Regions from separate parts of the Homo sapiens genome. Here region 2 is linked to region 1. The links are contacts of gene promoters, found by promoter capture Hi-C in human tissues and cell types (Jung and others, 2019). All regions are on one chromosome and are shown on one strand. Each heading gives the region's core, a stretch centred on a gene start or on the middle of the fragment in contact. The rest is flanking DNA. Distances are from core to core; before and after follow the strand shown.

Evidence for each region. The method cuts DNA at HindIII sites, captures the fragments that hold promoters and counts their contacts. A contact is called where the count stands out against the background at its distance.
Region 2: a contact is called between a fragment that was not itself captured here and the fragment with the promoter of C3orf18 in region 1, in 1 of the 25 tissues and cell types used here (stomach).

What each region holds. Positions count from the first base shown.
Region 1 is chr3:50,565,844-50,569,350 of GRCh38, reverse strand. C3orf18 (chromosome 3 open reading frame 18) reads left to right here and starts at 1,604. Exons shown (of 6, transcript NM_016210.5): 1 at 1,604-1,888; 2 at 3,257-3,345; 3 at 3,490-3,507. It also overlaps a transcript of HEMK1 not described here. RefSeq lists an enhancer at 1-24 and a silencer at 1,463-1,972. The HindIII fragment of the contact is 29,907 bases long and covers 1-3,507 here.
Region 2 is chr3:51,592,088-51,595,594 of GRCh38, reverse strand. The region is part of intron 3 of RAD54L2 (RAD54 like 2); the gene reads right to left. Among named protein-coding and RNA genes, the nearest start is that of RAD54L2, 55 kb to the right of the region's middle. RefSeq lists a silencer at 1,921-2,124. The HindIII fragment of the contact is 4,263 bases long and covers 1-3,507 here.

The DNA.
Region 1 (3,507 bases), core at 355-2,854:
CACTCCCTCTACGCTCGCAGGCCTGCATACAGGAAAGTGCGGGGATGTGTGTGGGGTTGACCCTTGGGGGCCCGGACCTGCCGGTCTTCCTTAAAATCACAGCAGGGATTTGGCTCCAGCCCAAGGGGATTGCTCCGAGCTGGCGTTTAGGAACCAGGCCGGGAGGTGTGTGGGCGGAGCCCAGTAGCCTGCCGGAAAGGGGGCGTGTCACCAGAGGGCCCGGGTGTTCCGGCGGGGACCAGATGTCCGGGGGCGTGGTCTATCTTAGCCTGGGGGCCGGGTGGAGCTGTGCATGGGCGGGTTCCAGTGTTGAAGGCTGGTCCAACTTTGGGGTCCAGTCCCAGTGTCGTGACCCTACCGAGGTCAGTGGCCCGAGCCCACCAGGGGGTCGGCCGACTGGCGGCCAGACCCCAGGGGCCGCTCTTTTACCGATTCGAATCTTGACTCTATTGGCAACTCCTCCAGGTGTTGGGACCTCTGGACCTCAGTTGCGCCTTCTATAAAATACTCGGCAGCGTCTCGCAAAGTGTGTCTTGTCAACATCTCCCCACCAGAAAGTACTGTTAACTAGAACACTGTTAACTACTTTTTTTTTCTTTTTTTCTTTTTTTTTTTTTTTTTTTTTGAGACGGAGTTTTGCTCTTGTTGCGCAGGCTGAAGTACAATGGCGCGATCTCTGCTCACTGCAACCTCGGCCTCCGGGTTCAAGCCATTCTCCTGCCTCAGCCTCCCAAGTAGCTGGGATTACAGGCGTGAGCCAACACGACCGGCTAATTCTGTATTTTTAATAGAGACAGGGTTTCACCATGTTGGTCAGGCTGGTCTCGAACTCCTGACTTCAGGTGATCCATCGCCTCGGCCTCTCAAAGTGCTGGGATTACAGGAGTGAGCCACCACGCCCGGCCTTAAACTGCTATTAAACATGCTGTTTCCCTGCCTCCTTCCCAGACCGGGAGACACAGGGGCGTTTGCATTTGTACCAGGCTACCCGGTGACTCCCATAAACTACTTTGAAAACCGGCGGATCAGGAGTATCTGAGGGCTCCTTCCCTGAGCTGATCATGCCGTGGATGGAAGCTATTGTGAGGGTATATGTAGACTTGCCTGGGTCGGGGTGCCCAATAATAAATCCACCCCACTCTCAACTTCTGTAGACGAAGATTCCCCATCTTCGTCTAGAACCCTCACACCAGAGGACCCGTCTGAGTAGAAAGCCAAGGTTCAGGAAGGGAAAAGCAGTTTCTTCAAGGTCACAAAGTCAGCCAGAGTTCAGTGCAGGCCCAAGGACTCCCAGTCCAGTGCTCTCCCCAAGTCTCCTCTGTACATCCATCCGCGTTTTGGGGGCTTGAGTCTGTCCTGGCACGGGTAGCTGGCAGGGGTCCCGAGTTCTGGCCCGGAAGGGCCTGGCCACCCACTGTCCTCCGCCCAACTTCGGCGCAGGCCACGGGGTGAGGGTAGTCTCTAAAAACTGCGACCAGGTTCTAGGCTCCCTCTGGGGGTGGAGCCAGACCCGAGCGACAAGCGAACGGTCCAATTCTGGGCGGGCTCTAGGCCCGACAGCCAATCGGAGGCCGGGGGCGCGGAGCGTGCAGGGAGGCAAGGCGCTGTAGCTTCGGGGATCCCCCGAGGCTGCTCGGCCCGGCCCCACCTCCGCCGTGGGTCCCGGCCCTACCCACCCTAGCTCAGGCCGGCAGAGCCAGCGCTCGCGGATGCGGCTGGTGCGCAGTAGCGGGCCTGGCCAGCGGCTCGGGGCTTGCAGGGAGGGCGGATCTCGGGTCGGACCCGCAGCCCCAGACGCCGGGCTTGGGGGTTCCCCCCGCCCCGGCCTCCTGCCAGTCACTACCACCCCTAGCCTCTCCAACTGAGCTCGGCGCCGGGAGAGGATTAAGTAAGTGCTGAGGTCACTGCTCCTGTGCAAGAAGGGAGGCATCACAGGGTCGCGGAGGCGGGCATGGGGATTGGGGCAGGGAGGACTGAGAGACCTGGTGGAGAACAGCATGCGGGTTCTCGAAGGTCGCGGTGCCGACCCCTTTTACCCCGGTTTCCTTCCCTTCCCCTTTGGACCCTGAGGCAGGCCTGGAAAGTGGTCAGTAGGGCCTCTTCTCTCCTTTGGGAGGCGATGTTAACAGAGCCCCAGGGCACGAGTTAAGGGTTTGGCCCAAGGTCACGCCCGGGATCAGTTGCAAAGCCAAGAAAAGAACCCGGGACTTCCTATGTGCCCAGATGTGCCCAGCCTAGCTGGAGGGAGAAGGCAAAGAGGGATGAGCCTTTCTACCCCATAACCCTCTGCCAGCCTTGCCCCTTCCTCAGGGACCATCAGAGGTGTTTACACATCTCACACACGCCCATGCATCTGCACAGGGAGGCAACCCCACTAATGCCCATGAACCAGCACAGGGGGATGTATGCACCCACGAGCTAGGTATCCCTCCTCTCCCTAGGCCGTCCCATCTGCAGCTTGGCTGGCACCTCTTCCCACCCCACCTTAACCAGGGCCCTCTGCACTGGGCAAATCTCTCACCCTCTGCTTCCAGGGGAGGAGGGTAAAGGAAGAGAAGGCACCCACACTGGGAGCTCCATTCCTGCCTCGCCTTTCTCCTTGACCCTAGCAGCCCCTCTATTGTTGGTGGGTGGGGAGGGCAGTCCAATGTCCCCGAGAGCCTGCGGAGAAGCCCCGCCAGAGAACCAGAGCCTCTCTCTCCTTCTTGTCTTCTGGTCTTTCCACATCAGCCTCCACCCACACTCCAAGCATAGTCTGGACCATACAGTGGACTGGGTCCAGGGGCTCCCTTGGCTCCCCTTTGTGACTGGGTTGGCCATGGGGAGAAAATCTAACATGTAGTGGATGCTTACTGTGGATGGGGGTTGTGCTGAGCTAAGTCTTTCTTCGACACCTGTTTGTTCTGCCATTTCTGTAACCCCATGACCCTGTGGGGATGTTCTCAATATCCCCACCTTAGACTCAGGAAAACGGAGACACAGAGAGGTGGAGTGACTTTCTAGGGATCACTAGTTAAGCAGCTGAGCTAGGTTTCAAAGACAGGCCTGTCTGACTCTTGGGCAAGTGTTTCCCTCCAGGAAAGGAAAAAGCTGTGGTATTTTTTCCCCCAAGCAGGATGAGGGATGTGGGAGGCAGGGAATGAGGAGGTGGATATGGGGAGGTGGGGGATATGGGGACGCAGGTTGAGGGGAGTTTTTGATCAGGGGAGGGAGACTTTTTCTTTCAAACATCCCCGCTGCCTTTCATATCTTCCAGGTTTGATCACTATGATCATCTCACCCACAGACAGAGGATGCAGGGCTTCATTTTTGTTCCCAAAAACAGGGGCACCGTAGATACGTAAAGTATGTGTCCTAATGTCTCCTGAACTTACCCTCATTCTTGCCCTCAAACCTTTACCTCCCCAGTGCTTTCAGAACCTAGAGAGACTTCATCTCACTACTGAGCCCCTGTCCTTAGCCTCATGTTTCTTATTCTTTCCTTTCTAGCACCCAGGAAGGCAGGGG
Region 2 (3,507 bases), core at 263-2,762, 1.0 Mb before region 1:
CAGTTCTTGCACTACTATCCCACTACTCAACATACAAAGGTCAGTATCAAGGAGGAAACAATGGCCTGACTTATTGTACCAAAGCCAAAAATATCTTTCACTCCCCCATCCACTCCCTATCCTGTTCATCCCACCTTTGTAAAAGATCTCATGATCTTCCTGGGCTTTTACCCATCCCTCTTCAATCTGCCCTACAAATCCAGTAAGTCACCAAGTCCTATAAAATCCAGTGCAACAAGTCTGACCATTTACTCCTCTTGTGTGATCGACTGACACAAACAGTTCTAATCCTCATTACCCTTTCCCATAGAGTTCTACTACAGACCTAACTGATCCTCCCTGTCTACAGGCCATGTCTTTGATACAGTGCTAGAGTACCATTCCTGAAGTCAAAGGTCTGATGGATGCTCCTCAGTAAAAGGGCCCATCGGCCAGGCACGGTGGCTCATGTCTGTAAGCCCAGCACTTTGGGAGGCTGAGGCGTGTGGATTAATTGAGTTCATGTGTTTGAGACCAGCCTGGCCAACATGGTAAAACTCTGTCTCTACTGAAAATACAAAAAATCAGCAGGATGTGGTGGCGCGTGCCTGTAGTCCCAGCTACTCAGGAGGCTGAGGCAGGAGAATCGCTTGAACCTGGGAGGTGAAGGTTGCAGTGAGCCAAGATTGTGCCACCAGCCTGGATGACAGAGCGAGACTCCGTCAAAAAAAAAAAAAAAAAAAAAAAAAAAAAAAGCGCCCATCAATTCCATGTTGCCTATAAAACAAATTCTAAACTACTCCATGATCTAACCATAGGTCATCTCTCCAGTCTCACTCTGGTGATTACCCCTCTTGTGTCCAGTGCATTAACAAATAAGACGGCTCATCATTCCTTAGCATTTGCCATACTTTCCCTTCTACTTTGCCTTATACCTCCTGTTACTTCTAACTGTCCTTCCACCTCTGCTCAACAATAATTAACAATCACCTTCTTCCCTCAAAGCAGAAACTAGGAAAGAAAGCAAACACATCACAGGAAAGGCGATTATAAGAATCTATGGTCTCAGAAGCAGCATTGGTTTGAAAAAGGAGCAATGCCTTGAAGACCAAAAGTCCAGCTTTGCCAATTTCTTGCTAAGTTATACTGAGTAAGCCACTCACCTTTCTGAGCCCCAGTTTCCCCATCTGTAAAATGTATCTACCCTACCTAACATACAAGATTATCCAGACAATTAAGTATGGGCCGGGCACAGTGGTTCATGCCTGTAATCCCAGCACTTTGGGAGGCCAAGGCAGGAGGATCACCTGAAGTCAGGAGTTTGAGACCAGCCTGGCCAACATGGTGAAACTCTGTCTCTACTAAATACAAAAACTTAGCCAGGCATAGTGGTGCATGCCTGTAATTCCAGCTACTACTCGGGAGGCTGAGGTGGGAGAACTGCTTGAACTCAGGAGGTGGAGGTTGCAGTGAGCTGAGATCATGCCACTGCACTCCAGCCTGGGCAAAAGAGCAAGACTCCATCTCAAAAAAAAAAAAAAAAAAAAAAGAAAAAGAAAAAAGAAAGACAATTAAGTATGATAAAGTGTGTCAAAATGCTTATGGGGGGATGGAGCTAAAGCTTACAGGGAAAATTATACCTTTAAATGCTTATATAGAAAAAAAATCTAAAAATTAATGAGCTACGCACATTCTTAAGAAGTTTGAAAGAAAGCTTTAAATATTTACGTAGAAAAACATCTGAAAATTAATAAGCTACGCGCATTCCTAAGAAGTCTAAAAGAAAGGCAAAATAAACCCAAAAGAAACAGAAAATTAGAAAGTAGAAATTACAAAGAAAACAAACACAATACACCAAACCCAAAAGACAGTTTTTTGAAAAGAATAAGATTGTTCACATGCTTGTGTAAACTATGACAAACAATATAAAAGTAAGCTGTGGTTATCCAGTAGAGATGAAACTTCAAATAAAAAGGGCTGAAGTGGCCGGGCACAGTGGCTCACGCCTGTAATGCCAGCACTTTGGGAGGCCGAGACGGACGGATCACGACGTCAGGAGATCAAGACCATTCTGGCTAACACGGTGAGACCCCGTCTCTACTAATAATACAAAAAATTAGCCACGCATGGTGGTGGGCGCCTGTAGTCCCAGCTACTCAGGAGGCTGAGGCAGGAGAATGGCGTAAACCTGGGAGGAAGAGGTTGCAGTGAGCCGAGATCGCGCCACTGCACTCCAGCCTGGGCGACAGAGCAAGACTCCATCTCAAAAAAACATAAAAAAAAAAAAAAAGGGGCTGAAGTAAGTTTCTTTTGTGAAATGGTTTCTCAGATCTCAGTACTATTGACATTTGGGACAGATAATTGTTGGGGTGAGCTAGGGGCTCTCCTATGCATTGTAGGATGTTTAATAGCATCCTCAGCCTCTATCCACAAGATGACAGTAGCATCCCCACCCCACCCCCAACAATCCTGACAACCAGTGTCTTCACACATTGTAAACTGTTCCCTAAGAAGCAAAATCATACCAGGTTGAGAACCACTGCTCTAAGAAAACAAAAGGGCCACATCACACTACACCAACTAAAACTAGATTATTCATAGCTATTCTTACTAGTAGAATAGCTAGCTGCTCTGCCCATGACTACGGGATGGCAGCAAGGACAAGACTAAAGAAATAGGCAGGTTTTGGATTTTTCAGGAAAACTGCATAGAGTGCTCAACATGAGAGGAAAAGAAAAGCTTTAGGCCGGGTGTGGATCACGCCTGTAATCCCAGCACTTTGGGAAGCCGAGGCAGGTGAATCACCTGAGGTCAGGAGTTCAAGACCAGCCTGGCCAAAATGGTGAAACCCTGTCTCTACTAAAAATACAAAAATTAGCTGGGCATGGTGGCAGGCACCTGTAATCTCAGCTACTCAGGAGGCTGAGGCAGGAGAATTGCTAGAACCTGGGAGGCGGAGGTTGCAGTGAGCCGAGATCGCGCCATTGCACTCCAGCCAGGGCCAACAAAAGAAAAAAAAAAAAGCTTTAAGAGGTAAAATAGGGTCAAAAACACCAGAAGTAACAGAAGTATTACTTTTATTTTTGTGGCTCTAACACTGTAGTGAAATATAAAAATGGTCCTTGAGTCAAATTCCAAGAAGTCAGTTAACCTAGCAGAGCACAGCAGGACATAGGGCCTAATGGAACGTTTGTTTATCACTCTGAACTTCAATAAAAATGAGTCATTTTAAAATTTTAAAAAAGTATTTAAGGCCGGGCATGGTGGCTCACCCCTGTAATCCCCAGCACTTTGGGAGGCCAAGGCGGGCAGATCACCTGAGGTTAGGAGTTCGAGAACAGCCTAACCAACATAGAGAAATCCCGTCTCTACTAAAAATACAAAATTAGCCAGGCATGGTGGCAGGCACATGTAATCCCAGCTACTCAGGAGGCTGAGGCAGGAGAATCGCTTGAACCAGGAGGTGAAGGTTGCAGTGAGCCAAGATGGCGCCATTCCACTCCAGCCTGGGCAACGAGCAAAACTCCA